2 separate regions of the Homo sapiens genome follow, and region 2 is linked to region 1. Evidence: promoter capture Hi-C in 16 types of primary human blood cells and fetal thymus (Javierre and others, 2016). All regions are on one chromosome and are shown on one strand. Each heading gives the region's core, a stretch centred on a gene start or on the middle of the fragment in contact. The rest is flanking DNA. Distances are from core to core; before and after follow the strand shown.

Evidence for each region. The method cuts DNA at HindIII sites, captures the fragments that hold promoters and counts their contacts. A CHiCAGO score of 5 or more calls a contact.
Region 2: a contact is called between a fragment that was not itself captured here and the fragment with the promoter of RAPGEFL1 in region 1, in 16 of 17 cell types (megakaryocytes, M0 macrophages, M1 macrophages and 13 more). The highest score is 13.9, in megakaryocytes.

The regions. Positions count from the first base shown.
Region 1 is chr17:40,175,677-40,179,201 of GRCh38, forward strand. RAPGEFL1 (Rap guanine nucleotide exchange factor like 1) reads left to right here and starts at 1,794. Exons shown (of 15, transcript NM_016339.6): 1 at 1,794-2,705. The coding sequence starts at 2,186. RefSeq lists enhancers at 673-1,173, 1,174-1,674, 2,066-2,922, 2,923-3,525 and a silencer at 1,706-1,835. The HindIII fragment of the contact is 3,169 bases long and covers 712-3,525 here.
Region 2 is chr17:40,027,740-40,031,522 of GRCh38, forward strand. It overlaps MED24 (mediator complex subunit 24), which reads right to left. Exons shown (of 26, transcript NM_014815.4): 12 at 3,420-3,506; 13 at 2,009-2,120; 14 at 1,087-1,229; 15 at 170-207. Among named protein-coding and RNA genes, the nearest start is that of SNORD124, 2.0 kb to the left of the region's middle. The HindIII fragment of the contact is 4,950 bases long and covers 32-3,783 here.

The DNA of each region.
Region 1 (3,525 bases), core at 544-3,043:
GCCACCATGCCCGGCTAATTTTTTTTGTATTTTTAGAAGTGGGGTTTCACCATGTTGGTCAGGCTGGTCTTGAACTCATGACCTCAAGTGATCTGCCCGCCTTGGCTTCCCAAAGTGTTGAGATTACAGGCGTGAGCCACCAAGCCCAGCCAGCATCAGTATTTCTGAGAAGCTTCCCTGTGATTCCAGTGTGTAGTCAGGGTGAAAACCACTGCCACTCCAGGAGGACCATGACTTGATGCTGGCTCTCCTCACTGATTCAAAATGTTGAACTTAGTCTCTGCCTGACATCCTTGAGCATTTGGGGGAGTACTGGGGTCCTGTGTCCCAAGCTTCTAGCTTCCAGAAGTCTCTCAGTCTGTTTTATTTTCAACCCCCTACACCCTTCACACTCCCCAATTCGCCCTTCCTAACCAACAATTCCCAAATCCTGCCCAGAGAGAAGGTTACCAAGGCAACCGGCTTAATCTGGTAACTGTGGCATGTGCTGGGAGAGAAGCCCTTCCCTCTTCCTATTCAGTTCATAAAATGCTACCTGGGGAGCTCCAACCCATTCCAGCCACTTTCCCCTTTCAAGCCAGGGGATATTGGAGTGTCCAATAAGGGGAGCACAGGAAGCTGATACTCAGACCTCTAATACAGCTTCTTAGCCAAAATTGTGCGCTGTCTTCTTTTTACTGTTTCCAAATCCACAAACAGATGGGTGTGCAAAGCTTTATTTCTGTGAACACATGCTCTAGCACACATGGGAACAGATATGCACATACATTGATACGTATGTCATACACACCCTGTTCAGTTTTACTACCACTCCCAGCCATTAGCATTCCTGTCTCTGCCTGGTTGGTGCTCGGTAAACAGGGGTGGGGCATTGTCCAGAGAGCCTCAACCCATCGAGAACCTGCTGCCACTCCCACACCTTGTAAGTCTAACCTGGATGTTCTCACACTTAGCATGGCTTTACGATGCACCCCCCTCCTCCCCCACACTCCTTCTGGGGCAGCATATCCTTAAGGACAGAATGCTCCTGGTGTGGGCATCAGGAGTAAGGATTACTTGGAGTGCTAATTGGCACCACTTTTCCCACTCCATGGCCATGTACACTTGGGCTCTGTGCTTGATGATAGTCGGCAGTTCTGGGGCTTGTCACCTGTCTCCATGGCCCTGCTTCCTTCTGCTGCCAGCTGGGCTCAGGTGCCCTTGTGCTCCTGGTCTCCTCCCCACTGCCTATTATCCCCTCCTCACCCCAGCTAGACCTGCCACAACCTGCTGCTCCCTGCCTGGCTCCTACCTGCCTGCCAGTACCTGCCCACAGACCAGGCCCACACCACCTATTGTGCCCTACCAGAGAGGACAGATGGGCACCGCCTCCAGTGGCAATGCTAATTCACCCAAGAGGCCTTCCCAGCTCTTCTCACAGAAGGAAGATAAACTCCACATATTTCTGTGAGTATGAGAAAGGTGCACACTCTTGGGTTCAGCAATCTGTAGGCCTGACTTGGGTACACAGGTAGGTGAGTGAAGGTGTCCAGGCCACAGACCTGTCCTGACTCTTTGAAATGATGCTGAGACCCGGTTATCCCTTGAGCCAGGAATCCTTCCCCATTGGTAAATCTCTGACTTACCTTTGCCCTTAATTTCTTCTGCTTAGAACCCAAGTCCCTTACTGTTTCCCTCGCGGTCAACCCCAGCGCGCGAGTTCAAGCCTCGTGCGGCGCGGGGGCGAGCCGAGGAAGGGTAGGGGCGGGGACTGGGCGGGGACTGGAGGAGGGGGCGCGGTCTCGGTTCTGCCACCTTCCCCCTCTTCACGGCCAGGAGCGCAGCCGCCGCCGCCGCCGCCGCCGCGTCCTCTCAGCCTTGCGCTCCGCCCGCTGCCTCTGCCGCCGCAGCGCAGAGCCGGGCGCACCGGCCCCGCAGCCTGCCCACTCTTCGGGCCGCGTGCCGGCTGCAGCCGGCATGGGGGGTTGCTGAGAGCGAGCACTCCTTTCCTCTGGCACCTCCCCCGGCTACTGGCCACTGGACTCTGGCCAGCGAGGCTCGGCCCCTCTGGCCCCCAGTCTGGCGCCTGGCACGGCCCTCTACTCTGCTCCTCCAGCTCTGAGCATCGTGTCTTCGCCGCCCCCCCCGCCCGCGCCTGGGATACCTGGGTCCCCCGGCGACCCCTAGGAGAGGGGCGGGGGGGGGCATGAAGCCGCTGGAGAAATTTCTGAAGAAGCAGACGTCGCAGCTGGCGGGCCGAACGGTGGCGGGAGGTCCCGGCGGGGGTCTGGGGAGCTGCGGTGGGCCTGGAGGGGGTGGGGGACCCGGCGGGGGCGGCGGTCCAGCCGGGGGACAGCGGTCGTTGCAGCGGCGTCAGAGCGTGTCTCGCCTGCTGCTCCCCGCTTTCCTCCGGGAGCCCCCCGCCGAGCCGGGGCTGGAGCCGCCCCCTGAGGAGGAAGGAGGAGAGCCGGCGGGGGTCGCGGAGGAGCCGGGCAGCGGGGGGCCCTGCTGGCTGCAGCTGGAGGAGGTGCCGGGGCCCGGGCCTCTCGGGGGAGGGGGGCCCCTGCGCTCCCCTTCCTCCTACTCATCTGACGAGCTGTCCCCAGGCGAGCCCTTGACTTCGCCGCCCTGGGCCCCTCTGGGCGCCCCCGAGCGGCCCGAGCATCTTCTGAACCGGGTTCTGGAGCGGCTTGCTGGAGGGGCTACCAGGGACAGCGCCGCCTCAGGTAAGGAGCCGGTGGGCTCGAACACCCAGAGCAGGGGCTGGCCCCGGCTCCTCTTCCTTGCCCTTGGAGCGTAGGGGTGGCGCCGTGCCGGGGCTTGGTTATAGGGTTGAGTGGTCCGCGGAAGCCGGCTAGGGGCCTAGCGGAGGTACAGACCCTCCCGCGGAAGAGGAGAGCAGTACTCACCTTCCTCCCTACAGCAGCCTCACCCTCGTCTGGAGAAGCAGCTGAGCCTCTTACTCTCCTTCAGCCACCCTTCCTTTCCCCTGGGCATTGGAGCCACTGACTCCCATGGGTCCCTGATGTTGAATACCTCCTCCTGTGGCCCCAAATTAGGGCCTGACACATTAAAATGGGAGCTGCCCAGCGCAGCCATGCCACCCGCCAGAGGTGCTTTAGCCCTGAAAACCCTGGGGTCCCTGACTGTTCAGAGGCCTACACAGCGCAGGCTGACCCACCCAGGGAGGCAGTGCCAGACAGGCACAGGCCCCAAGCTGCCTTTTAGGCATCAGCAAAGGGATGCGTTGTCCTTAGCAGTTTGGTGGGGGGGATAGTATTCTCCTTGGGCTGGACTCAGAAGGTGTCTGGGAGGGGAGAGGTGGCTGGGCCGGCATCATGGCCCTGCAGCATCCAGGGTGTCCAAGCGCCTCCAGCTTCCACCCTTCGGTGGCAGGCCTCAGCACCCGGCTTTTTTTTTTTTTTCTTTTGGAGATGTAGTCTCACTGTCACCCAGGCTGGAGTGCAGTGGCGCCATCTCAGCTCACTGCAACCTCCACCGCCCAGGTTCAAGCGATTCTCCTGCCTCAGCCTCCTGAGTAGCTGG
Region 2 (3,783 bases), core at 1,257-3,756, 150 kb before region 1:
TCCAGCATTATCCACTTTCAAGCTCTGTGGAAGCTTCCATTGGTCATGGCTCTGAGGAGGGAGCACAGCCTCCCCCTGTTGAGCTGGGGAGCCCTCCTCCCTCCCACACTCTCCCGCCACACCCCTCCTCAGGGCCCACTGGGCCTGCGGATGCACAGGGCTGACTTACTGCTTTCTTCGCTGCCATAGGTTGTGAATTCATTCAAACTGAAAGGAATGGAGACAGGCTGCATTGACCAGGGCATGAGCTGAGCAGTAGCTGGGCGCTGGGGCTACACATGTTCAGAGAGCGATAGCTAGAGTCTGAGTTACTGGTTAAACTTAAAATGAGACACATTGCTATAGAAAAAAGGTTTTTGTGGTTTTTGTTTTTTGTTTTTTTTTTGTTTTTTTTGAGAAAGAGTCTCGCTCTGTCACCCAGGCTGGAGTGCAGTGGCACAATCTCAGCTCACTGCAACCTCCGCCTCTGTTCAAGCAATTCTTCTGCCTCAGTCTCCCAAGTAGCTGGGATTACAGGTGCCCGCCACCACACCCGGCTAATTTTTTGTATTTTTAGTAGAGACAGGGTTTCACCAAGTTGGCCAGGCCGGTCTTGAACTCCTGACCTCAGGTGATCCGCCCACCTTGGCCTCCCTAAGTGCTAGGATTACAGGCGTGAGCCACCGCACCCGGCCAGAAGGATTTTTATTGTTAGAAGATTTCCAAGGCCTAGAGAATGGCTCACTGAATGGAACCATGTTCTATATATGTCAAATTCCAGGGCAATCAAAAAAGGCAACAGAATTTGAGAGCCCCTTATTAATAACTGGGCATACTTGGAATTCCTCCATGCCCAATGTTCAACACCTCAACCCTTACCCTCATCTCTTTACCAAACATGTCCACTCCATCCTCAGCTGAAGAGAAAGGAACACTTAGGTCGTGAGAACAGGCCCTTCCTCCAAGATCTCCAGCCAGGATGCTCTGCCTAGGCCCGTGGGTCTCTGGATGAGACCCAGACCCAGGCACCTGACTCCTACCCTGCTACCTCCTCCCAACGCGCAGCCTCCCTGCACGCCCTGGGGTCAGGGGCTTGGCCTTCCTCACTTGATGAATTTCCGGGCGAAGGATTTCAGCTTTCCAGTGGCGGCGGCGGCAGCCAGCAGCAAGTCCAGACTCTTCCCGGACAGCATGTGGCCCAGGACTCCCAGCAGTCCCTCCGGTGACTTAGAGTGGTCTGCATCCATCGTCTGGGGACAGGACAGGAAATCAAGTCCTGAAGAACACTGAAGACCCCCCACCCAAGATACAGCCTAGCCACATTTTCTCTCTTCACAACCTGGAATGTAATCTACATCTTTCTGACTTCAATCTGGAAAATCATTCCTAAAACCCACCCCTGCTCTCCGATCCATCCCTCTCATCTACACTGGCATGCAGGTGGTAAGGTTGGAGTGGGCAAGGTCACGGCTAGGATCTTCTCTGTCCTTTCCTTTTTTAGACAGAGTCTCGCTCTATCGCTGAGGCTGGAGTGCAGTGGTGCGATCTTGGCTCACTGCAACCTCTGCCCCCCAGGGTTCAGCGATTCTCCTGCCTCAGCCTCCCAAGTAACTGGGATTACAGGCATGCACCACCACACCCAGTGAATTTTGTGTTTTTAGTAGAGACTGGGTTTCACCACGCTGGCCAAGCTGGTCTCAAACTCCTGACCTCAAGGGATCTTCCCACCTCAGCCTCCCAAAATGCTGGGATTACAGGCGTGAGCCACCGCACCCACGTCTCTGTTGTTTCCATGTGAGATGGCCTAAGTGAAAGCGCCTACTGCAGTGCCTGGTGTACAAATGAAGCTCCCACGGGTTAGCATTCAGTGGTAGCTGCCCTTGCCTCCCCTTTCACTACCTCCAAAGCAACTATGTATAAAAGCTAAAGGAGACAGAGGTCTGTGGCCTCTGTTTATTTATCTGCAAGCAGATGGAGCACTGGAAAGAAGAAAGAGAAGACTGTGGTGGCCAGGGAAGGGCACACTCACCTTGAGGATGTTTGTGACAGTGGGCTCCGCCCGGAGGATCAGCTGGATGTTGGGCTGGATGTTGGCATTCTCTCCCGATTTCTGCTGGGGTGCGTGCTCTCGGTCCGCTTTGCTGTGGACATCACCAGTTGGCCAAGGAAGGGAAGAGGAATGAAGAGAAATTCTTGACACGTTCCCTCGTTCAAGCCCGGAAGGAAATGCGCAGAGGAGGTGGGAAGCATGTAAGAACCTCCGAGGTTGGGGTGAAGTTTATGGAAGCATAGTCAATGTTGCAATCACTGATTTAGCATTAGTCTTTTTTTTTGAGACAGGTCTCACTCTGTTGCCCAGGCTGGAGTACAGTGGCACGATCTCGGCTCACTGCAGCCTCTGCCTCCAGAGTAGCTGGGCGCTCACCACCACGCCTGGCTACTTTTTTGTATTTTTAGTAGAGACGGGGTTTCACCATGTTCTACTGGTCTCAAACTCCTGACCTCAGGTGATCCACCCACCTTGGCTTCCCAAAGTCCTGGGATTACAGGTGAGCCAGCACACCTGGCAATTTATCATTAGTCTTTTTTTTTTTTGAGACAGAGTCTCGCTCTGTCACCCAGGCTGGAATGCAGTGGCGCGATCTCAGCTCAGTACAACCTCTGCTTTCCGGGTTCAAGTGATTCTCCTGCCTCAGCCTCCTGAGTAGCTGGAATTACAGGTGCATACCATCGCGCCTGATTAATTTTTGTATTTTTAGTAGAGATGGGGTTTCACCACGTTGGCCAGGCTGGTCTCAAACTCCTGACCTCGTGATCCACCCGCCTTGGCCTCCCAAATGCTGGGATTACAGGTGTGAGCCACCGCAGCCGGCCTATCATTAGTCTTAAATGCTCTGAAAGCACATTTAAGATTAAAGGAAGATTCAGGATTTTTATTTATTTATTTATTTTTTTTTTGAGACAAGGTCTCACTCTATCGCCCAGGCTGGGGTGCAGTGGCATGATTTCGCCTCACCACAATCTCCGCCTCCTGGGTTCAAGCAATTCTCGTGCCTCAGCCTCCAGAGTAGCTGAGATTACAGGCACACACCACCACGCCCAGCTGATTTTTGTATTTTTAGTAGACATGGGGTTTTGCCATGTTGGGCAGGCTGGTCTTGAACTCCTGGCCTCCAAGTAATCCACCCGCCTCCAGCCTAGGATTTTTACTTTTATCACAAAGATGGGTATGAGTTAAAGAGCAGTGACTAAGAGTGTAAAACTCTGGTCTGAAGACATCTGTGCTTTCTTTTCCTTCCTGTTCCCTGTACCCCCAGGCACGGTCCCAGTCACTTGCAGCCCAAACTTTCGACAGGAGGTTGAAAGGCACGCAGCAGCCCCACCGTAACAAGAGAGAGGTCAAGGGGCTCTTGGGGTAGCACAGGTGCGTTCACACTTACCGCTTAGCCATAAGGTTGTTGACGCTGGCCTCAGACAGAAGCCCCTGCTTGCCACATTCTTGGAGCAGGAAGTTTGTACAGTCACAGCTGTGAGGGAGAAAGATGCTGAGGGAACTGGGCACCTGGATAGGATGGTGAGGGGTGGGAGTGGCAGGTCCCTGAGCAGCATCCTCCCTCTTTCAGGATGAGGAAAATCTGGAGTGCCTGAGGGACGGTAGAGGGGCTCTGGGGACTTGGCAACTGTGGGCTCCTATTTCCTGCCCCTGCCAAGGGGAGTGAACAAGGAGACAGAGTCCCCTGAGGCTTCTCTGGCACAGAGATCAGGGGAAGAGCCCAGAACGCCTTCCAGTAGGGCGGGGGTGAC